Regions from separate parts of the Homo sapiens genome. Here all the other regions are linked to region 1. The links are contacts of gene promoters, found by promoter capture Hi-C in blood cells and fetal thymus (Javierre and others, 2016). All regions are on one chromosome and are shown on one strand. Each heading gives the region's core, a stretch centred on a gene start or on the middle of the fragment in contact. The rest is flanking DNA. Distances are from core to core; before and after follow the strand shown.

What was found. Contacts are between HindIII fragments. The CHiCAGO score rates a contact against its expected background, and 5 or more counts as called.
Region 2: a fragment that was not itself captured here is called in contact with the fragment with the promoter of CHRM3-AS1 in region 1 in 3 of 17 cell types (total B cells, endothelial precursors and total CD4 T cells); the score reaches 9.1 in total B cells.
Region 3: a contact is called between a fragment that was not itself captured here and the fragment with the promoter of CHRM3-AS1 in region 1, in 13 of 17 cell types (naive CD8 T cells, non-activated CD4 T cells, naive B cells and 10 more). The highest score is 33.6, in naive CD8 T cells.
Region 4: a fragment that was not itself captured here is called in contact with the fragment with the promoter of CHRM3-AS1 in region 1 in 1 of 17 cell types (endothelial precursors); the score reaches 7.8 in endothelial precursors.
Region 5: a contact is called between a fragment that was not itself captured here and the fragment with the promoter of CHRM3-AS1 in region 1, in 1 of 17 cell types (M2 macrophages). The highest score is 5.1, in M2 macrophages.
Region 6: a contact is called between a fragment that was not itself captured here and the fragment with the promoter of CHRM3-AS1 in region 1, in 7 of 17 cell types (megakaryocytes, M0 macrophages, M2 macrophages and 4 more). The highest score is 15.4, in megakaryocytes.

The regions. Positions count from the first base shown.
Region 1 is chr1:239,897,701-239,902,441 of GRCh38, forward strand. CHRM3-AS1 (CHRM3 antisense RNA 1) reads right to left here and starts at 2,172. Exons shown (of 2, transcript NR_046582.1): 1 at 2,064-2,172; 2 at 319-692. All of the region lies in intron 6 of CHRM3 (cholinergic receptor muscarinic 3), which reads left to right. The HindIII fragment of the contact is 7,774 bases long and covers 488-4,741 here.
Region 2 is chr1:237,790,754-237,795,494 of GRCh38, forward strand. It overlaps RYR2 (ryanodine receptor 2), which reads left to right. Exons shown (of 105, transcript NM_001035.3): 93 at 676-762; 94 at 1,352-1,570; 95 at 3,114-3,244; 96 at 4,536-4,578. Among named protein-coding and RNA genes, the nearest start is that of ZP4, 98 kb to the right of the region's middle. The HindIII fragment of the contact is 5,160 bases long and covers 340-4,741 here.
Region 3 is chr1:237,809,252-237,813,992 of GRCh38, forward strand. All of the region lies in intron 100 of RYR2 (ryanodine receptor 2), which reads left to right. Among named protein-coding and RNA genes, the nearest start is that of ZP4, 79 kb to the right of the region's middle. The HindIII fragment of the contact is 2,191 bases long and covers 269-2,459 here.
Region 4 is chr1:237,823,733-237,828,473 of GRCh38, forward strand. RYR2 (ryanodine receptor 2) reads left to right here. Exons shown (of 105, transcript NM_001035.3): 102 at 4,649-4,713. Among named protein-coding and RNA genes, the nearest start is that of ZP4, 65 kb to the right of the region's middle. The HindIII fragment of the contact is 181 bases long and covers 3,402-3,582 here.
Region 5 is chr1:237,843,585-237,848,325 of GRCh38, forward strand. No RefSeq gene overlaps it. Among named protein-coding and RNA genes, the nearest start is that of ZP4, 45 kb to the right of the region's middle. The HindIII fragment of the contact is 5,945 bases long and covers 1-4,741 here.
Region 6 is chr1:237,860,463-237,865,203 of GRCh38, forward strand. It overlaps the pseudogene LOC100130331. Among named protein-coding and RNA genes, the nearest start is that of ZP4, 28 kb to the right of the region's middle. The HindIII fragment of the contact is 4,755 bases long and covers 1-4,404 here.

The DNA.
Region 1 (4,741 bases), core at 922-3,421:
ACTAATATTTAACAAGAACCTCTCCCGCCTGCTTTTCACTTCGTGCCATTTCTTTAGATATTCTAATGACAAAAGGTTTTAGACTTGCGAGTGCTAATGCAAGGAAACATCAGTCGAATCTAGGTTTTTGTTTTTGAGGAAAAACTGTTATTTCAGCAGCTACTGCTACACGTAAGAGGTCCTGATGCAAATCCTTTTCCAAGCACCCTGCATTGTTGTTGTCAAGGTCCATATTTATCAAATCAAGTAAAAACCCATGAAAAGTGGCAACCGAGGGAGGAGGCAGCAAGATAAATCAACTTTCTAAAAAAAAAATTCCCCTTTTTAAATAGAATTTTATTCCGGTTTTGGTGTTCAGAGATGTTTTGTTCACAATAAGAGCCATTGCTCCATATTAGGTAACATCTTTTCCCCCTTGCAGCTTCAAATGAATATCAAGAGCCAGGTTCACAAGTTGGATTCCCTTTAAAGACACGTTTGATTGCAAAGCTTTGTTGACTCTGTTTGATATCCTCCGCGAACTGCATGACTGAGCTAAGCTGAAGTTCCTGGTCACCAGCATGGGGAACGGGTAGCTGCTTCAGCGCCTGCTGGCAGAGAGGTCGTTCTCCGAGTCTGCTTTGCCACCTAGTGGTTTGATGTGGTATTGCCATTCACCAGGTAGTTTTAAAAGTCATTTTAGCCGTTGAATGCTATAGTGAATTATGACAGAAAACAGAGACACTCTAAGCAAAGAAGGCAGTCAGAGACCCAAAACAAGCCCTGAAAAATGACGCAGACTGGATTACAAATAGGGAAGAGGCACTAAATAGTTGGTCTGAGAAAAAACGCACGGCTGTATGTTGCAAAGATATTTTGGGTTTTTCCCATATCATCACTTAAAAAAATAATTATTATTATAGACGTAGAATTAATTTAGACTTCTAGAAAAATTTATACGCTTTTAATTGGTTCAGCAGGTTTAAAAATCGAGAGCCCTCAAACATTTTTCCCAAGTAGGTACTGCCCGGTTGGCTCAGAGGACATGAAATGAGTTTATCTCCTTGGAATTCATTATAACCAGAAGCCTCACATGTATATTGGCCTTGTCCGTTTCTGTAAGCAATCTCACATGTATTTCACACTGGATATTTACACATTTTTAAATTTTTTAAATTTACCTATATATTTCACAGACTTATAACCCCAGAAAAGTTATTTTTTGCCATAACTAGGGGGAAGAAGGCAAATTTCCTAGAACTAACCTTCAATTTCTCCTAAATTCAGTACTGTCAAACTTTTTTGTCTTTTTTCACATTTTTTGTTTCACCCTCTTCTTTTAAATATTAATAAAAGATGTCAAAATATCCACTGCAGTGGCTTTCCAACATTATTCAACACAAAATACATTGTACGTACATCATGACTATAGACATAATTTTATACGTGTGTGTATGTCGAGCAAAAATTTAATGAAGTGATATTGATTGTCATTATGTGGTATGCATTCTGATACGTCCTATTCAATTTGCTGTACATTTTTTTCTTTTTTAATTCTCATATTGGCCCACTAATTGGCTCTTGCATTTTGAACTCAGTGTGTGTGTGTGTGTGTGTGTGTGTGTGTGTATATACACACACGCATATATATCTATTGAATTTAGTGTGTGTGTATATATACATAAATACATATATACATATATAAACACATATACATATACACACATATACATATATACACACATATCTATACACATGTATGTATATGATATGTATATACATACGTATATATGTGTGTATATATACTCACACACATGTATATATACACACATACCAAGTTCAAAATGCAACAGCCAATTAGCGGACCAATTAGTGTGTGTGTGTAGTGTGTGTGTATATATATAGTAAGTTCAACATGCAATGTATATATACACTAAGTATATGTACATTGTATATAAGTAAGTATACTAAGTACATAGTATATATACACGATATAAGTACACTAAGTATATCGTATATATATACTAAGTATATATACATACACACAGATGTAACTTCCCCACAAAGGCACTGATGGTACCCACGTGCAGGATCTTGCGCAGTTTTCCACTTCTTGCCTGAGCTCTGGTGCCTGGAACACTTCAGTAACCATTCCCTGAATGTTGCACCCACAACCTGGCAGGGAGGGAGCCTGCTCTGACCCCAGAGAGGAGCCAGGCACCTGCCCCTGGTCTGCCCCTATCTGACCATGCCCTGAGCCCTCATGCAGGCTGCATTCCTAGAACTCTTGCCTGGGATTACTTATAAAGTGCGAAGGTCACTGGGCTGACAAGGATCTCTGTTCCCACCACCTGTTTATTCCTGAGCATTACAAGGAAAGACTTCCTGTAGGTCCCCTCACCAATATCATTCAATTCAATGAGTGTAGACTGTGAACTTCCTTGACTCAAAATATCCTAATGCTATGGAATAGCTGTTGAGTCAGGATGAGGAAGGAATATTAAACATAGGAATGATACCTTCTACTCAGAAAATCACCGTAAACTGAGGGCTCTTAGCCCGGGGTTATCACTGCTTCATTTGGGTCTGACCTACAGTCTTGATTCTCAGGAAGTTACATATTACCTATGAAATAATAGATATACCTGAAGTAAAACATTTGGTGACTCTCATTTCTAATAAGTACTTTTAGATATTCTTTTTTTTTTTTTTTTTTGAAATCCTTATGACCGGCTGATCACTTTCTCCTGTTGTCATCCTGGGTACCGATAGGACCTCCGTTGCTGAGCCTCCAGAGAACAGTCCTTTTAATGAGGCCGTGGCCCCAAGGCCTCGGAGAAGTTCATAGAAAATGTCTGAAAGAAGGTGGGAGGGATCTTGTTTCCTGGCCCTATAGGGACATTGTCTTCCTTGATAAAGCTGGGTACAGCCTTGATATGAATAGATTGGGGAGCACCAGGAATGTACCTCACCTGGGCTGTCGAGAAAAGACAGTGTGCTCAGAAGAGGTATGGCAGGTGCTGAATATTCCCTTGGAGGGACGAAGGCAAGAAAGGCCCCTACAGCAATGAGGGGAGAAAATCCACAACCCAAGTAGAACTAGGATTTCTTATGTGTGAGACAATACATTGCTCATTTACATGTAAAGTGTGTATAATATTTTTAATCCATCGTATTCAGGCGAGCAAGATCAGTCATTTCATTTTTGTATAACTTGCCTCGAAGCTGCCTGTTGTGGCCCCATTCTGCATAGCAAATCACCACAAACTTAGCAGCTTACAACAAGGTTCCCTGTTCAGGGTCTCAACACTGAAATCAAGGTGTTCGCCCAGCTGAGTTTACGTCTTAGGCAAGACTAAGGAAGAATTCATTACCACAGGCATTCAGGTCATCGGTGCTTCTGCCATGGTGACCTAGTGACCTCTGAGCAGCTGCCACCTCTGGGCACCAGACAGGAGGGCATGAGGCACGCATCTTCTTTGAGTCTGATCAATATTATCAGATGCGACCTCTTTTTCCTCCAACCTTCTCCGCATTTAAAAGCAACAGCAGAGTGTAAGGCAAGATTCCAAGCCCTCCTTGGCAACCATCACCAATATCTGCCCCCTTTTAACTCTCTTCTTCACTTCCTTCTGGCTTCGGAAACTTTGGGATTTTTTTTTTTTTCCTCATTCGGGACATTACAGATTGAGCTGAAGTCTTCTTTGTCCATCACCCTCAATCCTAATTTTATCTTCCTCCTCCAAAATACCACTGCTAATATATGATTTGCATGTAAATCTTTCTATCCTTCTATGACAATTTTAATTATATTAATATACTAAAGGTGGTATCTGTCTATATGTCTGTATACAACCTTTAGTATACAGGCATGTACAATCTTTAGTATACTATTGCTGTGTTTTATTGTAAACTAAATTTTATCGTGTTGTATTTGTCATCCCACAACTTGCCTTTCTTACTTAACAAAGTATTTTTAGATGGTTCTAAGTTAATATATATCTAGTTGATTGCTTTTATCTGCTGCATAGTATTCCCTTTTATGAATGACCTCATTTTTGAATTCATTTCAAAACGAATGGTCTTATAGATTTTCCTCATTTTTGTCATAAAAATAAATGCTTCAGTTAATAGCCTTGGGCGTGTCTCCTTGTGTACATACGAATGCAATAATTTCTAGAGGGTAGATACCTAGCAGTTGGATTGCTAGTTCATGGTGTACATGCCTTTTCAGTTTTAATTAATACTTCCAAATCACCTTTTTGTAGTACTTATTATCAATTTATTCACTCTGGATGTGGCAAGGGGAGATTTTTCTTATTTTCCTAGTGTGTAGGTCAGTATACCATGCATTGATGCTCAGAAGACCAAGTGTTTGCAGTTTCAAAGCCCTTATCTTTAAATCCCTTCTCTCTACCAGAGTATTTAAAATCTACTTTAAAAAGCAAAAAATGAGGAAACACTGGTTTCTTTCTCCCTGTGTTTCTAAAGTAACAACACAACCCTGAGAACACAAAAAGTTAGCATTGGGAGAAGGGAGGCAAGATCCCCGTTAATACTTCAGAGTATTAGCCTACAACACCACAATGCTTCTTATCTTCTCCATAATCTACAGATCAGGCGATAGTATTCTAGTTTTATAGATGAAGAAAGGTCGTCTCAAAATAGTCAAGTAATTTGGTAAGTTTATACATCTCCTGGGCCAACCCAGAACTCAGACCCAAATCAGCAAAACTCCAAAGAAAGACCACAGCTTTTCAAC
Region 2 (4,741 bases), core at 1,670-4,169, 2.1 Mb before region 1:
TCCCACACTAGGAAATGGAGGGAGGCAGGCTTCATATCCAGGCAATGAGGCCTCGGAGGTTGTAAACTGAACCACCACACTGTCAAAGACAAGACAACCTTTTATCAGAAGCCTACAAAACCCTGCCCCCTGCTCACCTGTCTGATCACATCCCCCTGCCACCCCCACACATCAGTCTCCCTTCTTCTCACTGTGTTTCCTTCTATTTCTCAAACACACCAACATCACTCCTAACTCAGGGCCTCTGCCCTTGTTGCTCCTCTCTTTGACACACTCTTTCTTTCCCCAAATATTTGTATGACTTGCTCCCCGCTTGTGCATTCAGGCCTCTCTGTTCAAAGCTTACCTCCTGAGATAAACCTTCCCAGACCAACACCATCTAAAATAGCACCCCTATTCCCTAAGCTCCTAACCCGATGTAGTTTTCTTCTTAGCATTTAACATTCTCTGAAATTATGTTTTTCACTTGCGGGTATGCTTTTTTATTCTTTGTCTCCTCCATGGTGGCAGAAATGTTCTCCCTCACTTTTAGGTCTGCAGCACCAAGAATGGTGCTTGAAACAGTAGGCTTGCGATCAATTGTTTGGGGTAAATGAATGAATGCTTTATTTAAATTGACTGCAGGTTTCAAGCCTGTTGATTCAGTGACCTTTTCATAATGTTTTTCACCCTCAGAACTATTTTGCTCGCAACTTTTACAACATGAGAATGTTAGCCTTATTTGTCGCATTTGCTATCAATTTCATCTTGCTCTTTTATAAGGTACGTACATCTCACTGTTTTAATTACTGGTATAAAACTCCAAATAGAAATGAATGTAAAGATTTCACGATGAACGTATCTACTACTGCTAGTGAACATGTCTAAACCTATTATGAAATACTGGTGCCTAGGCACTGATATCACTGTTATCTAGGAAGGCAAGATAGATTTGTTCCTGAGAAGTGAGAAATGCCTCAACTGAAGGGCATTTGATTTAGCAGAGGGCTTCCCCACAGTATTCCCAGCCTAATTTAGCTGAATATCTTATTTGTGACTATGCCTGGGTGTGGCATACCGTATTATATTACATTCTTTTGTAATTGAGAAGAGAGCTTAGCCATCTAATTTTTTAGCATGCATTGGAATCCTCAGAATTTTTGGTTGAATAAGAATGAATTTTAAAAGTATGTTCATTACTTGCCTTTGGTTTTTGAAAAGCTATCGTTTTTAGCCTTTGCTATTAGTCCTTTCATTATGCAGTGACTTCACATCCAACTATTTGCTGAAAAGGCTGTATTTCTTTTGTCTTTTGCTTGCAATGGTATCTTAGATGCAGCAAACTGACTCTACTTTAAATGCTTTGAATCAGGTCTCCACTTCTTCTGTGGTTGAAGGAAAGGAGCTCCCCACGAGAAGTTCAAGTGAAAATGCCAAAGTGACAAGCCTGGACAGCAGCTCCCATAGAATCATCGCAGTTCACTATGTACTAGAGGAGAGCAGCGGCTACATGGAGCCCACGTTGCGTATCTTAGCTATTCTGCACACGGTCATTTCTTTCTTCTGCATCATTGGATACTACTGCTTGAAAGTAAGATAGTAAGGCACCAAGGTACCTGTGTGTGTGTGTGTGTGTGTGTGTGTGTGTGCGTGTGTGTGTGTGTGCGTGTGTGTGTGTGTGTGTGTGTGTGTTTTGCAGGCTGGACTTCTGGGGAAGCAGATTCTGAGCTGGAAACTTTGTGCACAAAGTTTCTGAGGGAATGCTCCATGAATCAACATGCATGGGGCAAATGGAGGAAGGATGGGACAGAGGGGAAAGCTGGGCTACTGTAGACAGACACAGCAGGTGCCGTCTCCAAAGCTGGGATGCCCCTTCAGGGCTGTCCTGGCCTGGGGCATTGGAGCCTGGCCTTTTTATGTCTACATTGACTAGTCTGCCCTGGGAAGGGGCTATGGCCATGAGCTGTCTTAAAGTAGCTTTCTTTCATATACTGATAATTATTCACATAGAGAATTTCGCCTATAACTTGGCCCTACAGAAGTGAGCTCACCCACCCACTATGTCTCATGGTAATGCAGTGATACTTGGTGTATTAAGACTTATAGAAATATATTGTGTCAATCCTGGGAGTCATTTTATTGTTTTATTATGAGGGAAGTATCTACTGCTATTCTTGGCAGAAATGCCTCATGATTTGTCACACTTCACCCAGAAAATAATGCAGCTTTATCCCCAGAGGCCTGCCAAGGGAACAATATAATTTGGTGAATAGAACCCAAGATAATCTCTCTGAGTGCTCAGGGCTGCCCATTACCTGTCCAAACCTCTTTATCTTTTCCTAGCAAGGTGCTTTTTTACTGTAATGCCTTTATTTCACTTTCACTGTCCTCTGCCTCTGGTTATAAATCTTGCAGAAGACGTGTGAAAAACCAGGGCTCAGAGTAAAAGACTAGAATGTAAAGAGTTATTCAGGAACTCCTTTCCTCCCGTTTATTCTGTTTTATGGGAGTGCATATTCTTGGCTATTTCCAGAATATCAGTGTCTATCTGCTATCTGTGCCTTGTGTAAAGTCTGTCCGTGTAAAAAGAGAATCATTATGTTCTAGAAAATCATTATGTTCTGGAAATATTTTGACAAACTGACAGATTTTTGCTGATGTCGAAATTAAAATTTATCTCAAAATAGTATGTGGTGATGCTGAGCATGAAATTATTAAAGAGGTTTCTCAAATAAAACTGCACTTTAGTAGCATGCATTTGGGAACATTGCTGCAATTGCTAAATTTTATTTCATTCATTCATGTTGAGAGATATATGTAAACAAAATGATTTTGCATAATCATCTTTTCATCTTTGAAGTTTAAAAATGATTTCACTAGTGTAATTATCTATAAGACCCTATGTGTTTAAAAACATATGCATATATGTAATATCTATTCTATCTTCTGTTTTTCCAAAACCTTCTAGATGCTTCTTCCTGCTTGAATATAGCTGATTCATTTTCATTCCATTTTTACCTTCCTAGAAGTACACAGGAAATATTTCTTTCCAAAAGCTGTTTTGTAAAGATAGTGACCACAAGATATGCCAGTAAATCTAAACTAATTTTAACGTATTTATTTTTCCTATGTAGGTCCCATTGGTTATTTTTAAGCGAGAAAAGGAAGTGGCACGGAAATTGGAATTTGATGGGCTTTATATTACAGAACAGCCTTCAGAAGATGATATTAAAGGCCAGTGGGATAGACTCGTAATCAACACACAGTGAGTAAATAATTATATGAGACTTTCTGCACTCAAAAATTTCAGACATGAAAATATTTGGTTGGAGTTCCTGCAGATTTGTCAAAAGTTTAGCAGAGGTGAATAATAGTTATATATTCAGCCAAGAAAAATCTAAAGACTCAGTGCTGTCCAACTCTTAATGGTGGATGTCCTCAATTTTTGCCCTCTGAGTTCTGAATTCCTTAATTAAAAATGGCTTAGAGTTCATTTCCACAGCACTGATGGAACTTCACATCCATTACTCAGCGTTCAGGGATGTGTGTAGCAGGAAGTGCATGACCTGCAGGCAGGGTTATCTCATCCAAAAGCAGAGGCAAAAATTATTCATTAACGAAAAAGTTGTAGCATTAAAGGAAAATGCATTGAATTTTACACCTTGAATATATCTGAGTTATCAACTTTCAGTACCATCAAGCACCCTAGCATGAAACTAACTAAATATTAGGACACGGTGTAAAATGTAAGACAGAAAAACAAATGCTTTTTCTATCCAATAAACATTTAGCCCTGTGAGATCAAGACCCAAACTACTAGCTGCTGTTCTGAGTATAAGTCCATCACAAAAGTATAATTTTTCACTGTAAAAAGAATTAGTGCAATAGTTGTAATAGTTTATATTTACTATTCGAGTGAAATCTTTTTAAAATTGTGATTAGTTTTGCTAATTAAAAAGTCATTTGCTAATGGGTTCCGAGTTGTCAAATGGAGATTATTTATACATGATACATGTTTATCCTAAATGCTAAATGTTTTGTTTAGCAATTCTACCATTAATACTAATTTCTAAGCAAGTCAGTCCCTTTAGGCAAACTCTCTATGTATTAGTGAAGACGCTAGAGTTGTGCTTTGCTGCTATGCTCGAAGTTTCTGTGAGGATAAGTGGTGGGAAAGAGATTTTTTTCTTCATGGGAAAAACAATGACAGGTTTCTAGATACTTTAATTTTTAAAGGCAATTGATAAACAGGTCTATGTACTGATATGTTATAAACAAATAAATATAACAATGCTACCTAATAAATATGCTCATATTCTTCTCCATTAAAGTATCAGCTTATAATCTTTTGTATATATTTACATGTTAATATTTAAAATAATATTCAAATACCTATGATGCAGGAAATTATGTGATGTTAGCCAAATTCATTGTAAGTTTACGTGGCAGGATATATGTTTACATATTATTTTAAGTATGCCATATATCCCAAATGATATGTTATTATTTGTCATTAAAAATAATACTATTTACTTCTATGCTTTTGTATATTTTAGGTCATTTCCCAACAACTACTGGGACAAATTTGTTAAAAGAAAGGTAATATTACTTGGAATCCTCTACATTTTTCTTAAAGCACAGTTTAGATTTTTATTTGATGTGATTCAGATGTAGAATAAGATATTGAGGTATAATTTATCTGCCTATTAATGTCTCCATTTTTTTTTTTTAATTTTTGAGATGGAGTCTCACTCCGTCACCC
Region 3 (4,741 bases), core at 114-2,613, 2.1 Mb before region 1:
TAGAATTGCTGAGTAATGTACTTAGAACTCGAAGGAGTAATGTCATCACTTAAGCCTGTTGTTCACATATCCCAGGACAACGGGTAAAACTATTTCCCAGAGAACATTTGGAAGCCTTAGTTTTTTGTTCACCTTAATGACTTTAACTGAAATTACTAAATTTCAAAAATATATCTCTTCCTAGAACTACTGGTTTTTGCTTTTATATTGAGTATCTTGGCTTAAATGTCTTTTTTGGTCTTGGTTTTCAAAAATCAACAGCTGTTAAAGCTTTCATATTGCTTTATATCGCTGTTCTACAACCTGTCTCTCTAATATTGGCAGCTGAGAGGTAATCATACATGAGATCTTAGATCAGGAAGGGGAACATGAGACAAAATATATATCACTAGCTGGAAAGAGATGTATCCTTCAGTAAGCTCCTCACGAAAATACCTACATCATTTGTGTTGGGGATGTAGGTATAGAGGCTGATATAATGATACATAAATTACTCTAGAAAAAATAGCCCAAAAGATTGATGAGAATGACCAGTATTACAAAGACTAACAATTAAGATAATTTTATACTAAAGAATGACAACTCAGTGGGACAGAGTAGTTCAGAAACAGATGCAAATACTCACGGAAATTAAAAGATGATAAAGATCTTTTGAAGTAATGAAATGAAAAATAATTTAATAAATGACATTAGTACCATGGACAAGCTATTTGGGGGGAAATGATAAAAATGGATGCCAACCTTGCTTTTTAAATAAAAATAAATTCTGAAATGAGCATATTTTAATGCAATAAGAAGGAATAATCACAAGACAGAATTTGATGCCTTAAATAATAGTAATACTCATTTTTACATGGAGAACGGTCTGAGTATGACATAAAACTCAGGATCTATGAAAGCATAAACATTATTTGAAAAAAGAGCAACTATAAATAAAGTCGTAAAGGCAAATGGTAAACTGGGAAAGATATATTTAACACCATAACAAAGGGCCATTTTCCTTAATCTACCAAGTCCTTATCACATCAATAAGAAATAAGCCAATAGAAGAACAAGTAAGTCACATGACCAGACAATTCACGGTAAAATTAATTCAGTGGGCTTGCAAATTTGAAAAGACGCTCAGCCTCTGTCAAAGTGAAAGAAATGCAAATTAAAACAATGAAAAAAACACTTTTTACCTATCAGGTTTGCAAAGTATTCACGTTTGTTAAAACCCACAGTTGGTGAATTGATGGGAAAAATCAGCATTTTCATGACTCTGGTTGGGAGGTTGAATTGACAACAATTTTAGAGAAGTTTTGTGACACCTATCAAATTTTTAAGTATATATATCCTTTGACCTATTAATTCCACTGCTAGTACTTTACCTAAAGGTTTACTCACAAACAAGCCTCTGTATGTTCAAGAACATTAGCTGCCCTCACAAGCTAGGAATAATCTAAATGATCATTAGTAGTGTCCTGATTAAGTCAGTTACGATAAATCCATAACAAGTATGCATCTGTTTGAAAATGAGAGAAATTCATGTATACAGATATGGAGAGATATATAAATTACATTTTAATTAAATTACATTTAATTTAAAAAAACAAGATCTTGGATCAGTAATGATAGGATCCTAATTGTGTGAAATTATATATACACAATAATTCATATTTTTGATATGCTGGAATATGCATAACATTTTTCTGGAGGGATTTATTCATAGGACACTGTGAACAAGGATTCCTACAGGGGTAGGACCATAGATCACAGGGGAAAGAAACTTGTTTGCTTTTCATTTTATAGACTTTACTCCTGTCTGAATTATTGATACTATTTCTTTTTACCATAGGTATTTTTTTATTTTTAAAAGCCTAAGACAGTTTTTTCCCCACCATGTTATAGAAGATAATCTGCCTTCAGTTATTCCCACAATTAGTATAACTACATGCAGTGACTGTTCCCTGGCAGGGAGGAGAGAACAGAACATACAGGTGGCTGACCTGAGGGAATTAAAGGACAGAGGTTGAGGGAAGCTCTGCTGAAACTCGATGTTACATTTTGATCCACTGCCTGTTCTTGAGCCATTTATTTATAGCCCAAATCTCTTATTTGTGTAAAGAAGTTTTTCTGTATTTAAAACTTTATCATAAATGATCATTAATATAGAATTGCCCATCCTTTCTCTCCTTTAAACAAGTATTCTTTTATTTACTAATTTAGAGAGCTTCAGACAAGATTGTCATTCTTTAGCTTTTCAATATTAAGCATTTTGTTCTCTTCCCAACTTTCTTTTTAATAAAAAAAATCTTAAGAATAAATAACTCTCAAATGAATTGCAGGTTAGTTAAAAATTGGGGATACATAATAGCTTGCTGACATAAAAATATTCACTTTTCTTAGGTCAAGATTAAATTTTCGAAGGCTTGGAACTTCAAAAAGGGATGCTTTTGATGGAGAATGCAGGGGGAAAAAGCTTTCAACTCATCCTTCCACACATAGTTGACAGCAGAGCAAATCATATTGTTCATGTGAAAATCATCTGTAATTTTCAACATTTCCTGTCACGATTGCCGTTCTGAGGTGTTTCACATGTGACTTTGTGGTTTCCACGTGCTAGTGACCTACTTGGAGGACACGGAGTATCAGAGCTGAAAGGACTCTGATGTTCATGGTTGTTCATCCATAAACTTAATTCCTCAACTGGAAGAAAATGCCATCCCAGTTACAAATCCACAGTCTTGTAGATTTTTTTTATTTGTCAAGTGCTTATATAGCACTTGGCTATAAATGCTATTGTCCCAGGCATTGTCTCAAGAGCTTTACAAATATTAACTCAGTAGTCTCCTACCAACTTTCTGCTGCAGGTTGGCACTGCTATCATTCCCATTTTACAGATGAGGAAACTGAGCTACCAAGAGTTTGAGTAACTTGTCATAAGTCACACAGTTAGGAAGAGGTGACACTCTTCAACCAGTACTCTAAGTTACACTACCTCACAGATAGTAACTTCATTCATGCTTCTGTCATTAATTTTAGTGCTATTTTTATACCAGGCACTCGTTAAGGATAAGGCTTGAGTAAGTACAGTCCCTGCCTTCATGGAATTTGCATGGTAAGCACCTTTCTAGAAATTCTGCTAAGCTCGTTCTTTTTTCTGGGATCCTCCAAGAAAAGAGTGCCCCAGAAATTCCAGAAGTTTTGGAAAACCTTGTGGATCAGTATTCCTATCGCATACAGAACATTTAATATACTATACAAAAATAGTGGATTCAACATCACTGCTCAAATATTGCAATTGAGAAGTTGCTTTAGGTGGCTGGCTACTAGACAGGGAAATAGAAATAACTTATTAATGTCACATGATACCACAGGGTGGAAGATATTGATACGGACATAGATCAAGTGCCTTAATACTTGAGATCCATTTTAGTCATCATAAGTTGTCATGACTGAGATGTAATACTTACTTACATTTGCTAGTCTTCTTCTCCGATTAATTGCTGGACAAATAATTCATGCACCTTGCCTGGAGCCTCCTCCCTGACTGCCTTTCTATCACCCCCTGATTTGGCCCACCTGCCCACTTCTTAAAACCATCTCCTATCCTTCCTTTTGCTGCTTTTCTCGCACCACAAAGCAGAGAAAAATGTATAAGTTTTTTTTTTTTTTTTAACTTACAGCAACTGTAAGAAAACTGGATTCAATGCAATAAGACTGACCCGTTACTAGTGACGACTCTCCATCAGAGTCACTAACATGCAACACTTTACCCCCTCCTCCCACGCCTATTCATTCATTCCAGGCCTAGGGCTGAAGATGTGTTAAGGATCCTTCATCTCCTCTTCCATGCGCTGCCTTTAATATCAGCTGTGCTCAGAGCCTTTCTACCCTGTGACCCTGAAGGCAGGAGGGGAGTGGGAGGCCAGGAAAGGCTACAAGGCACAAGGGAGGTGCAGAAGGTAGCAGTAGCAGGTACATTGCCTGCAGTGACTTCCAGGAAATTCAGTTCTATTCTAGGACAAACACCCGACAAAATTTATAAATCTCAATATCTACCAGCCTCAGGGCAGAAAGTTTACTTAGGTTATGTATTCCTAAAGGCTATGATGCTCAGAGAATTGCTAAAAATTAATAGAAAAATAGGAATGATTTCAGATAATGGCATTCAGTGACCTGTATCAGGTAGTGAGAACAATATGTGACTTTAGATCTTCCTTTTGTACCACAGGGAGACCCCAGCAACATCCTGGTCTCTCCTTTTATTATGCAGTCGTCATAGTTGACCCCATTCAAGTTGTAATCATAGGATCCTTAAACGACTACATTTTGAACCTCACTCTCAGTATGCATTTCCATTACTTTTGTTAATTTTGCTTAGGAAGACAACTGCCTTCACCTGGTTGATTTTGCCTAATTTCATGGGGGCATGAATACAGAAGACAGAGAAACTTGGTTCCGGTGAGGAAATACGGCCTGTTGATGTTCTGAACTATGGACTTAGCTAGAGCCTAGATTTTTTTCAGTTTGAGGGATTTCTGTCCTCATGAGTAAGACTATTTATGACCAGCTCTGTTGTAGGTTTTTATATCTCTACACATAACAATAAACTTACTATCTTGTCTTTGACTGGGTTGAGTATATGTCTTAGATGTTTCTTCCCTGCAAGAGAAAACTCAGTTCCAAGACACAAGCCACTTTTTCATCCCTAGCTCATTCACAGTGACGGGCTGCTGCCAATCAGTCAAACCAGACA
Region 4 (4,741 bases), core at 2,242-4,741, 2.1 Mb before region 1:
AATCCAGGAGCTGGTGTTTTGAAAAGATCAACAAAATAGACAGACTGCTAGCCAGACTAATAAAGAAGAAAAGAGAAGAATCAAATAGATGCAATAAAAAATTATAAAGGGGATATCACCACCGATCCCACAGATATACAAACTACCATCAGAGAATACTGTAGACACCTTTACACAAATAAACTAGAAAATCTAGAAGAAATGGATAAACTCCTGGACACATACACCCTCCCAAGACTAAACCAGGAAGAAGTTGAATCCCTGAATAGATCAATAATAAGTTCTGAAATTGAGGCAGTAATTAATAGCCTACCAACCAAAAAAGTCCAGGACCAGACAGATTCACAGCCGAATTCTACCAGAGGTACAAAGAGGAGCTGGTACCATTCCTTTGAAACTATTCCCAACAATAGAAAAAGAGGGAATTCTCCCTAACTCATATTATGAGGCCAGAATCATCCTGATACCAAAACCCGGCAGAGACACAACAAAAAAAGAAAATTTCAGGCCAATATCCCTGATGAACATCGATGCGAAAATCCTCAATAAATTACTGGCAAACCAAATCCAGCAGCACCTCGAAAAGCTTATCCACCATGATCAAGTAGGCTTCATCCCTGGGATGCAAGGCTGGTTCAACATACGCAAATCAATAAATGTAATCCATCACATAAACAGAACCAATGACAAAAACCACATGATTATCTCAATACATGCAGAAAAGGCCTTCGACAAAATTCAACAGCCCTTCATGCTAAAAACTCTCAATAAACCTAGGTATTGATGGAAGGTATCTGAAAATAATAAGAGCTATATATGACAAACCCACAGCCAATATCATACTGAATGGCCAAAAACTGGAAGCATTCCCTTTGAAAACTGGCACAAGACAAGAATGCCCTCTCTCACCACTCCTATTCAACATGGTGTTGGAAGTCCTGGCCAGGGCAATCAGGCAAAACAAAGAAATAAAGGGTATTCAATTAGGAAGAAAGGAAGTCGAATTGTCTGCAGATGACATGATTGTATATTTAGAAAACCCCATCATCTCAGCCCCAAATTTCCTTATACTGATAAGCAACTTCAGCAAAGTCTCAGGATACAAAATCAATGTGCAAAAATCACAAGCATTCCTATACACCAATAATAGACAAACAGCCAAATTGTGAGTGAACACCCATTCACAATTGCTATAAAGAGAATACCTAGGAATACAACTTTCAAGGGATGTGAAGGACCTCTTCAAGGAGAACTACAAACTACCACTTGAGGAAATAAGAGAGAACACAAACAAATGGAAAAACATTCCATGCTCATGGATAGGAAGAATCAATATTGTGAAAATGGCCATACTGCCCAAAGTAATTTATAGATTCAATGCTATCCCCATCAAGCTACCATTGACTTTCTTCACAGAATTGGAAAAAACTACTTTAAATTTCATGTGGAACCAAAAAAGAGCCCGCATAGCCCAGACAATCCTAAGCAGAAAGAACAAAGCTGGAGGCATCACACTACCTGACTTCAGACTATACTACAAGGCTACAGTAACAAAAAGAGTATGGTATTGGTATGAAAACAGATATATAGACCAATGGAACAAAACAGAGGCCTCAGAAATAACACCACACATCTACAACTATCTGATCTTTGACAAACCTGACAAAAAGAAGCACTGGGGAAAAGATTCCCTATTTAATAAATTGTGTTGAGAAAACTGGCTAGCCATATGCAGAAAGCTGAAACTGGATCCCTTCATTACACCTTATACAAAAATTGACTCAAGATCGATTAAAGACTTAAACATAAGACCTAAAACCATGAAAACTCCAGAAAAAAACCTAGGCAAATACCATTCAGGACATAGGCATGGGCAAAGACTTCATGACTAAAACACCAAAAGCAATGGCAACAAAAGCCAAAACTGACAAATGGGATCTAATTAAACTAAAGAGCTTCTGCCTAGCAAAAGAAACTATCATCAGAGTGAACAGGCAACCTACAGAATGGGAGAAAATTTTTTGCTGTCTATCCATCTGATATACAGCTAATATCCAGAATCTACAAAGAACTTAAACAACTTCATAAGAATAAAACAAACAACCCCATCAAAAAGTGGGTGAAGGATATGAACAGACACTTCTCAAAAGACGACATTTATGCAGCCAACAAACATATGAAAAATAGGTCATCACTGGTCATTGAAGAAATGCAAATCAAAACCACAGTGAGATACCATCTCATGCCAATTAGAATGGCGATCATTAAAAAGTCAGGAAAGAACAGATGCTGGAGAGGATATGGAGAAATAGGAACACTTTTACAGTGTTTGTGGGAGTGTAAATTAGTTCAACCATTGTAAAAGACACTGTGGTGATCCCTCAAGGATCTAGAACTAGAAATACCATTTGACCCAGCAATCTTATTACTGGGGATATATCCAAAGAATTATAAATCATTCTACTATAAAGACACATGCACACGTATGTTTATTGGGGCACTGTTCACAATAGCAAAGACTTGGAACCAACCCAAATGCCCATCAATGATAGACTAGATTTTAAAAAGTGCCACGTATGTACCATGGAATACTATGCAGCCATAAAAAAAGGATGATTTCATGTCCTTTGCAGGGACGTGGATGAAGCTGGAAACCATCATTCTCAGCAAACTAACACAAGAACAGAAAACCAAACGCCACATGTTCTCACTCATAAGTGGGAGTTAAACAATGGTAACACATTGGGGGGCATCACACACCAGAGCCTGTTGAGGGGTTGGGATAGCATTAGGAAAAATACCTAATGTAGATGACAAGTTGATGGGTACAGCAAAAACCACCATAGCACGTGTATACCTGTGTAACAAACCTGCACGTTCTGCACGTGTACCCCAGAACTTAAAGTATAATAAAAAAAGGACATACATTCAAGTACCCAGTCTAATACCTGATGCATAGTCAGTGCTTTATAAATAATTATAAAGCTATTAATAGTATCATTGTTGAATACCTACTATCTGCCCAGCACATGTATTAACTAATTTTACCATTTCACCAACCTTATGAGAATGGTGCTCTTATTTTATGCATGAAGTAACTGAGCCACAATAAGTCTAAGGAACTTGGCCAAAGTGCACAGCTAAACAGGGCTGGAATCCATCTATACCCAGGCAATCTGCATCCAGACCCCTTCAACCACGGTGCTGTATTGACCCACTAGCTCTTCCTTTTACTTCCGGGCAACTTGGAGTGTGGTGTTTTTCTCTCTCAGAAAAGTCATGTTATCTTTTCCGCTTAACACATGTATCCTGGCTTGAATTAAATGTCTGTAAATGTGACAATCTCTTTTAAGTTCCACAGACATCAAATGACACTATTTTTTAGTCAAATACCATGGACAAGCTTAAGGGACTCATAATTCATTCATTGTGCTCTTATTGAGTGTAAAAATAACGTGTTTTCTAAGAGGGCAAAGTTATAACTTCGAAGAAAGTGTGAAGCCAGCAGGTCTCAGGAGGGAAAAGGAGCTTAAAACAGCTCAACACAGTGTTTCTGATTGTCACAGTCAATGAAATTATGGAAGCTTACTTATAAGGGACTTGTGAAAAAAGTGATTTGGGGCCTGGCACCATGGCTCATGCCTGTAATCCTACCACTTTGGGAAGCTGAGGCGAGAGGATCGCTTGAGCCCAGGAGTTTGAGACCAGCCTGGTCAACAAGACGAAACCCTGTCTGTACAAACAGAAATTATCAGGGTGTGGTGGTGTGCGCCTGTAATCCCAGCTACTTGGGACGCTGAGGCAGGAGGATCGCTTGAGCCCAGGAGGTTGAGGCTGCAGTGAGCTGTGATTGCACCACCGCACTCCAGCCTGGGTGACAGAGCAAGACTGTCTCAAAAAAAAAAAAAAAAAAAAAAATGACTTGACTGGGCATGGTGGCTCACGCCTGTAATCCCAGCACTTTGGGAGGCCGAGGCAGGCGGATCACAAGGCCAGGAGATCGAGACCATCCTGGCTAACACGGTGAAACCCTGTCTCTCCTAAAAATACAAAAATTAGCCAGGTGTGGCAGTGTGTGCCTGTAGTCCCAGCTGCTGGGGAGGCTGAAGCAGGAGAATGGCATGAACCCGGGAGGCGGAGCTTGCAGTGAGCCGAGATTGTGCCACTGCACTCCAGCCTGGGTGACAGAATGAGACTCCGTCTCAAAAAAAAAAAAAAAAAAAAAAAAAAAAAAGACTTGAGGCAGATTTCTTCGTTTAAGTGGTGATGTTTCATTTCTACATTAGTACTTGAAAAATCTGATTAGTGGAGTTTTCTGTACTTATAAATCTCAGCTGCTCTTTTTCGGCATGAAGTATGTAATAACATCTGTATATGCCAAGTTAACAAAAGGTTTTTCCTGCTGTCACTTCATTTTAAAACACTCTTTTCAGTGAGTGTATGTCCCAGTAACTGCACATACTTCTGTCCCCAAAGACAGAACACCGCCTCCTTTCTCCTAGGAGTATCGGATATGTAGTCACGTTTACCATGTTCTGAGCATTTTGCAAGGTAGTTGTACATCTCCCCTTTCCCTGGGGGGATTAGCCAAGGAACTGAATTATTCATTGCTTGATAAAGATTAAATTGTGTTTTTATTTAACACCAGGTCTAATTATTGATGCTTTTGGAGAACTAAGAGACCAACAGGAACAAGTCAAAGAAGACATGGAGGTAAGCTTCTCCATTCATGACTCAGCTT
Region 5 (4,741 bases), core at 783-3,282, 2.1 Mb before region 1:
TTCAACCTGGTAGGTGGGGGCTGCAGTGAACCGAGATCATGCCACTGCACTCCAGCCTAGGTGACTGAGCAAGACTCCATCTCAAACAAACAAACAGCAACAACAACAACAAAAACACTGCTTAAAGACATCAGAGATGACACAAACAAATAGTAAAACATCCCATGTTCATGGATAGGAAGAATCAATATTGCTAAAATGACCATACTGCCCAAAGCAATTTATAGATTCAATGCTAGTCCTATTAAACTACCAATGATATTCTTCACAGAACTAGAAAAAAATATTTTAAAATTCATATGGAATAAAATAAAAGAGCTCAAATAGCCAAGGTAATCCTAAGCAAAAAGAAAAAAAGAGGCCGGGTGCGGTGGCTCACACCTGTAATTCCAGCACTTTGGGAGGCCCATCTCTACTAAAAATACAAAAAAAAAAAAAAAATAGCTGGGCGTGTTGGCAGGCACCTATAATTCCAGCTACTAGGGAGGCTGAGGCAGGAGAATTGCTTGAACCCAGGAGGCAGAGGTTGCAGGGGGCTGTGATCGCACCATTGCATTCCAGCCTGAGTGACAGAGTGAGACTCCATCTCAAAAAAGAAAAAAAAAAAAGCTGGTGGCATCATGCTACCCAACTTCTAACTATACAAATAGGGCTACAGTAACCAACAGCATGGTACACTGGTACAAAAATAGACACGTACACCAATGGAACAGAGTAAAGAACCCAGAAATAAGGCCGTACACTTATAGCTATCTGATCTTCGACAAACCTGACAAAAACAAGCAACAGGGGAAGGATTCCCTATTCAATAAATGGTTCTAGGATAACTGGCTAGCCATATGCAGAAGATTGAAACTAGACCCCTTACACCACATACAAAAATTAACTCAAGGTAGATTAAAGATTTAAATGTAAAACCTAAAACTAGAGAAACCCTGGAAGGCAACTTAGGCAATGCCATTCTGGACATAGGAATGAACAAAGATTTCATGACAAAGACACTAAAAGCAATGGCAGCAAAAGCAAAAATTGACAAATGGGATCTAATTAAACTAAAGAGCTTCTGCACAGCAAAGGAAATTATCAGTAGAGTGAAGAGACAACCTACAGAATGGGAGAAAAATTTTGCAAACTATGCATCTGTAAAAGGTCTAATATCCAGCATTCTATAAAGAGCTTGCATTTACAAGAGGAAAACAAACAACCCCATTAAAAAGTGGGCAAGGGACACGAAAACACTTTTCAAAAAAAGACATACATGTAGCCAACAAGAATATGAGAAAAGCTCAATATCACTGATTTAATGCAAATCAGAACCATAATGAGATACCATCACACACCAGTCAGAATGACCATTATTGAAAAGTCGAAAAAAAAAATAGATGCTGGCAAGGGTGCAGAGATAAAGGAATGTTTATGCACCATTGGTGAGAGTATAAATTAGTTCAACCATTGTGGAAAGCAGTAGGGTGACTCCTCAAAGAGATAAAAGCAGAACTACCATTTGACCCAGCAATGCTATTACTGGGTAGATACCCAGAGGAATATAAATTATATACCCAGAGGAATAGAAACCATTCTACCATAAAGACACGCACATGCAAATGTTCATTGCAGCACTATTCACAATAGAAAAGACATGGAATCAACCTAAATGCCTATCAATGGTAGACTGGATAAAGAATATGTGGTACATATACACCATGGAATACTATGCAGGCATAAGAATGAGATCATGTCTTTTGCAGGAACATGGATAGAGCTGGAGGCTATTATCCTTAGCAAATTAATGCAGGAACAGAAAACCAAACACTGATGTTCTCACTTATAAGTGGGAGCTAAATGATGAGAACTCATGAACACAAAGAAGGAAACAGCAGACCCTGGGGTTTACTTGAGGGTGGAAGGTGGGAGGAGGGAGAGCAGCAGAAAAGATAACTATTGGGTACTGGGTTTAATACCTGGGTGACAAAATAATCTGTACAACAAACCCCTATGACATGAGTTTAGCTATATAACAAACCTTCACATGTACCCCCAAACCTAAAATAACAGTTTTTTAAAAAGTCATTTTCATGATAGCTTAAGCTAGTTTGAACTGAGTTATTACTTGCAATAAAGATGTTTGAACAGATACATTAGGACCATGCCTTTAAGTAACTAAAATTTCACAATGTGTTTTAATATATAATACATCAAATTCTCCATCCATCATCCTTTCACCAAAAAAAACTCTTGACTTTTCTAATGCTCCTCTTTTCAGATAACACTTTAAATCGTTTTGTCAAGTTCCAAAAGATTTCCATTGTGGCATTGGTAATATTTTTTGTTAAAATTATCAATAAATTTTGGAAAACTGATATAGTTATAGTTTGTTGATTTAGAAACATGTTGAATGCCCAGTTTATTCATGTTATTTCCTGTAACTACCATTAATCTGTGGTTTCACAGTTCCTTTATTGTTTCACAGTTCTAGAGGCTAGGAGTCTGAAATCAAGGTGTTGGTAGCATTGATTCTTCCTGAGGCTATGAGGGGGCATCTGTTCCATGCCTCTTTCCTCTCTTTTGGTGGCTTATTGGCACCTCTCTTTTGGTGGCATTCCTTGGCTTGTAGATCCCTGCCCTCATCTCCATGTGGTATTCTCATTCTCCCTCTGTATCTGCCTGTGTCCATGTTTCCCCTTTATTATAAGGCCACCAGTCATATTGGATTAGAGCCCACCATAATAACCTCATTTTAACTTGATTACCTCTGTGAAGACCCCATCTCAAAAAAAAGCCACATTCTGACATACGTACTCAGGGCTAGGGCACCAACATATCTTCTGTTAGAAGGATACAGTTCAACCCACATGAGACCTGAAGATTTTGGATTTCTTCATATAGGTCACTGCTTCCTCAAACCGAATTCGAAGATATATTCTTTGATGTCACTAAATTCTCTATAAGAATGTAAATTTTTACTATCTTGATTTGAAATTAATATAAATAGATTATTCATGCCCATTAGTTTCTCTTACACGAAACAACTACAACAGCAATAATACCCTGCGTTAAAGAGGCGTTGCTGGGAGTCTGGGGATGCCAAGGTGGTTAGAGTTCTATGGGGGAAAGAACCAGGGAGGAGAAATGGAGAGAGACCCCTGTGATGGGCCGAGGGTCCCCCTCTAGTCTTCAGCTGAATACTGGCCCCAGAAGCACGTAGGGAAACTACCTGAGGCCAGGAAAGGAAGCACCTACAAAAGTTTTCTCAGGCTAAATGCAGGAAAAAAAAAAAGAGAGAGAGAGAGAGATTGATGTTAGAGAGTCAAAGTGTAGAAAGAACTGGAGCCACTGTTGGCTTTGGAGATGGAGGGAGTCGGAAGGCAGAGAATCGGGTGGCCTCTAGAAGCTGAGAATGACCCTGGCCAGTAGCCAGCAAGGAAGCAGAAACCTCTGAAGTTGCATGGAACTAAAATCCTGCTGATGTCCTGAATGAGTTAGTTGGAAGTGCGTTTATCCCCAGAGCCTCAAAAAGGAGCACAGTCCTGCCATTCCTTGAGTCCAATCTTGTAAAACAAAGTCACAGAACCAGCTGTCACTCTGGGTCCAGAATTCTGACCTACCAATCTATGAGAGAATAAATGTTTTTTGCTTAATAAATGATTGTTGACTGTTGTTTTTTGTTTGTTTTGTTTTGTTTGAGACAGAGTCTCGCTCTGCTGCCCAGGCTGGAGTGCAGTGGTGCAATCTTGGCTCACTGCAACCTCTGCCTCCTGGGTTCAAGTAACTCTCCTGCCTCAGCCTCCCAAGTAGCTGGGATTACAGGTGTCCACCACCACGCCCAGCTAATTTTTATATTTTTAGTAGAGACGGGGTTTCACCATCTTGGCCAGGCTGGTCTCGAACTCCTGACCTCGTGATTTACCCACCTCAGCCTCCCAGAGTGCTGGGATTAGATTGTTAAGATGCCACATTTGTGGGGATTTGTTATGATAGCAACAGAGAAACTAACATTAGTAGAGGCACAATAATATTGCAATATAGTGTCTGAGGTGAAAAATACATGAGAGAGAATTAACAGAAGTTTAGACTGAGTAAGACAAGACTAGTGAACTTGAAGAAACAGCAATAAAACTACCCCAAATGAAATACAGAAAAAAAAAAAAGACTGAAAATGGGGACTTTATTTAAAAAATGAATGGAGCATCCATACACCCAAGCATGATCTCAATAGATTGTTGTGAAGAAAAACACACTCACGGTGCTTTTTCCTATTCTATGCAAAACAACAGATCAACACAGAAGACTTCTGTGACCGAATGTGTGGGGTTGCTCTCAACCAACAAGCAAGCAATCAATTCTGCAGCAGCCAGCCGCTGAGTGTCCTCCAATTTGATTCTGACATTTTCTATGTGGAAAAAGTGTGAGATCCCACAGGTTGAGGGCTCAGTCCCCAAAACTGTACCCTCCTACAGATACCAGTTCCAAGTCTGGGCCTACAGAACTTCTGATCAGCCGGCTTCAAGTTGGGGTTCCCATAACTCCCTCTTCATTTTTTTTTTTTTTTGAGATAAAGTCTCACTCTGTCGCCAGGCTGGAGTGCAGTGGTGCGATCTCCGCTCACTGCAACCTCCACCTCCGGGTTCAAGCGATTTTCCGGCCTCAGCTTCTCGAGTAGCTGGGACTACAGGTACACAGCACCATGCCCAGCTAATTTTTTATATTTTTAGTGGAGATGGGGTTTTTAGTAGAGAGGGGG
Region 6 (4,741 bases), core at 777-3,276, 2.0 Mb before region 1:
GTGGCACGAGTTCGGCTTGCTGCAACCTCTACCTCCCAGGTTCAAGCAATTCTCCTGCTTCAACCTCCGTAGTAGCTGGGATTACAGGTGCGCGCCGCCACACCTGGCTAATTTTTTGTATTTTAGTAGAGATGGGGTTTCACTGTGTTGCCCAGGCTGGTCACGAACTCCTGAGCTCAGGCAATCCACCTGCCTGGGCCTCCCAAAGTGCTGAGATTACAGGCGTGAGGCACCGCACCAGGCCCAAAATGTATTTACTAAGTGGCATCTACATGCTGGTTGCTATGGGTACAAAGATTAATATTAATAGCAATAAAAAGAATAATATGTATATAGTGTATACTGTGTGCCAGGTACTATCCTAAATATACATATATATTTAGAATATATACATTTATGCTAGATGGGGTATGTGTGTATATAAATATACTTCTTTAATTCTCACAATAAAAATTATCTTCATTTTACAGACAAGGAAACTGAGGCAAAAGGAGGTTAAGTAACTCACTAGAGGTAAGACATTCTGAAAGAATTCACTCTGGTGGGGAACAGACACAAAGAAACCACACAACCATGTGATAATGCGATTACAGAACATGTAAGAAGTGCTCTTACAGGGAAGGAAGACAGCAAGGTGCGAAGAACACCTTCTGGAGGAGATGAGAAGCCTTCCTTAGGCAGATGACATCTGAGTGACTCTCGGAAAACGAAAAACAGCTTTCGAAATAGGACAGGCAGGGCATACAGGGCATAACAGAAAGAGGTCATCCAATCTATAGCTTTATTCATAATTGCATCATATTGAAACAACCAAGATGTCCTTCAGTAGGTGAATGGATAAACAAACCGTGGTACATCCAGGGAATGGAACCTTATTCAGCAATTCAAAGAAATGAATAATCAAACCACGAAAAGACATGAAGGAAACTTAAATGCATATTCCGAAGTGAAAGGAGCCAATCTGAAAAGGCTATATACTGTATGATTCTAACATATGCCATTCTAGGAAAGGCAAAACTATAGATAGAGACAGTAAAAAAGATCGGTGGTTGTCAGGGATTAGGGGTGTGTGGGAGGAGATGAATAGCAGAGGACAAGCAATTTTTAGGGCAGAACGACTTTTCTGTATGATACTGTAATGGATATATGACAATATTCATTTGTCAAAACCCATAGAAATTACAACACAAAGAGTGAACCCCAATGGAAACCATAAACTTTAGTTAATAAAAATATATCAATAATGTTCCAATTGTAGCACATGTACCACAGCAATGCAAGATGTTAATGCTATGGGAAACTGGAGAGCAGGGAGAGGAGGAGGAGTATATGGAAACTCTGTACTTTCTGCTCATCCTTTTTGTAAACCTAAAACTTCTCTAAAAATTAAACTCTATTGAAAGAGAAATAAAGGGAGAAATAGCCTTCAAAATATTACAGAGAGAGCATTATAGAAAGAGGGGCATTGAGTCTTCAGAGTGCTTTCCAAAACCTGAATTAATCGTGGAGTAGGAAATATTAAGTCATGAGTAATTTATAACTTAGTATAAATTATTAGTTCATTTTCCTTGCTGCTGTCATTAGCTGGTTTCAGGATGTGAAGAAATGAAGATTCCCTTGGCTGCAAGTGAAACCTAGCTCAGACTCCCTTCGAGTAAAAGGAAGTGTACTGGCTGACGTAACCTGGAAGTCCTAGGTGCCACTTCCGGCATCGCTGAATCCAAGAGTACAAATGAAGTCACTGTAATGCATCTCTCTACTCACTACTTCCTCCTTCTCTCCCTCCGTCTCCCTCCTCCCCTCTTTCTCTGTCGTGCCTCAATTCGATGCACTTCTATCAGGTTGTCTTTAAATAGTGTAGTGATAGCCCCTAGCAGGTCCAGGCTCATGTGATTTTTTTAGTTCTTCTGAGGGGAAACTGTCTTCTCTATGTACAGGGGTTCCTGGGAAAGACATGAGGCTGGAGAGCCAGGCTGGTAAACAGACAGCAGCCAAAGCAGGCCTGAGGATGAAGAAGCAGGTCACAGAGCAAAGTCACTCCATAGGAACCAGCTAGTGAGGTATATCACCATCACCCCTACCACTTCAGGACTCAGTGAATGGTACCCCGGTTACGCTTTGGCCAAAAAATAAGAGCAAGGACATTAGAGGCAATAGGGCCCTGACCTATGTACTGCTTTTCTTATTCTGCTGTGACTGAATACTGTGCCTCCAGCACCTATACCATTCCTATTTCAAGACTACTTTTTGAGAGTCACCTTAGTGGAGGAGACAATGAAACCCCCGTTTGAACAGGTACCAAATCCCACAGCTTTAACTCTATTTGTGCCTTATGTGAAAGGGTCACATGAATTTAAAAAATGTATATTCTAATTTTTCCCATTGTGTTTCTGCAGATCTTGCCGATCCAGAGTCAGTGACCCAGGCCGCAGTTTGAGAAAGTGATAGCTGATAGAATGTCCCTATGGCTGCCTTAGGACACTCAATAAGCATCTAGTACATGAGAAAAATTACATCTGCTTTGCCTCTTATTCTTCTCCAAGGACTCTAAGAATCTAAGTTGTGACACCAAGATAGAAAACAAGATAGTAAAATAATTCTCTGTTATCATCATCTTCTACATTAAATAACTCCCCTAGATAGCTCTATTGTCTAGAGGTCAGTGATGTCCACCAGAACTTTCTCCAGTGATGGGAACGTTCTTAATGTAGTAGCTACTAGACACACATATAGCTACTGAGCAGGAAGTGTGGCTAGTGTAAACTAGAACTGATTTTTAAATTTTATTCCAATTAATATGAATTCAAATTCTACACATGGCTAGTGACTGTCTTATTTGACAGCACAGGTCTTTACAGTCTAATGTTAACCCTTACTAACAGAATGTGCCCCACCCACAATTAAGTGGCCATGTTTTGTGTTACATGACCTTACCCTCCCACCTGATTGGACCACAGGCAGTTACCGGCCCCCAGGACAGCCAATCACAGGCTGCTAATGATCTATACTGTGAAACCTGACTCCATAGGTGAGCTACACCAATCATATTTCTCTCTTTGGATTTTGGAACTGGGAAATTGAGAGGGGATTGGCTATGGGAGCTGAGCTTACTTCATTACACAGACTCAGGGCCCCGGTGGTAACTATGGGCCACCTGCAAACTGGGGCTATGAGAAAACAGGAGTCCTGGTATGTGTTAAAAGGGAGAGCTGGCTGCTGCAGATCGGGGAGAATGGGGTCAGACGTGCTCACAAGAGCAGAAGCTGTGAGGGACCCTCACGGCCCATGAGAAAGAGGCAGGAAGCAGCCTTGGGTTTTCTCTTTGGGGCTTGGCTGTATTTCAGCATGTGTTTATGGCCGCTCACAAGATTCTCTTATTTATTTCCTGGAAATGCGCTCCCTTAGCATAAGCCAGAATGAGTGGAACTCTCTTTCCTGTCATCTAGACCACTTTTAATGAAATTATGATATTGTAATATAAATTATAAAGAAAAGCATGTTATGCACCCTAGAAGTCAATATATTTTTGAGCTGGAAGGAAATTAGGAATCATGGAGTTTAATCTCATCATTTTAAAGATGAGATGGAAGCTATTTTGAAATGTTGCTGTCTAAAGTCACAGAGCTGGTTTCTGAGAAATTTTCAAGTATTAATTTGCTTTCTGAAAGTTTGTTAGAAAAACCAAAATGAAACAAAAAAATCTGTCACTGTAGTTTTTGAGAGAAAAATAAAATACAGTAGTGGATGGATACCTCAGTTTTAAGATGAATCTAACTTTTTAACAGGGCTTACTAACCTAATGGGGTTTCGTTAATAGTTAAAATCCACATTTTACAGGTGTTTGCCCCTAAGTGAATAATTCAGGGTCTCTGTTTTCTGCAAAATATCCTCCCACCCAAATATTTCTGGGGGGCCATGGCGTGTCTCCTGCAGGGTATCGAGGAGAGCTTCCCCAGATGCTCTGCCTCCAAGCGCCACGTGGGGGCGCTGCCTCACCACTGCCTGACCTGCGCACGTGTCCGGGAGAGCGCTGACCTCCGGGCCAAGGCCACTGTGTACTGGCCATTTGCCAAAGCGGAGCTGGCCTCCGCGCGGTTCCCAATTAACCAAAGCCACGTGGATTTGTCATCAGAGCGTTCAAGTGACACGGCCGGGCCCTGCGCGTGTGGAGTGCCTGGTGAAAGCTGCTCCTTGGTTTCTGCTTCCAGCCATAAGGTTCAGACAGGAACCATGAACCCAAGGGCTGGATCAAAAATAAATGTGTCACACAGACAGCTCTCTGTGAGTTCCTCTGAGTCTCTGACAACCTGGGGCCACTTCCCACATCCCGACCTCTTCCTGTTCTCCAATACTGCTTTAAGCACGGTACAGCTTGTGTGCCAGCCAGTGCTACTTCAGGTGGAAAGCTTCCCCTCCCTCCCCTGCCTCCCACAGGAGGCTGGGCACCAGTCGCTGGCCCATGTTTCCACCTCTGATGCACTTCTTTTGGGGCCACACTCCTGGTCCTCTCCCCATCTCCTGCTGTCTGGGGAAAAGGAGAGGCTTACCAGATGAGTGAGTTAGAGAGAGGGGACAGAGCCCGGGGGCCAGTTCCTTCCCCTCTGCAGAGCTCATCTCTGCCAGAGGCCTCTGTTCCTGCCTCCAACACTCTTGAGCTGAGTTGCACAGGCCTTTGTAAAGGGGGCCTGCAGTTTTCCATCTCTGTCCAGGATTGTGTGAGCACATTTAATTCTGGGACGAA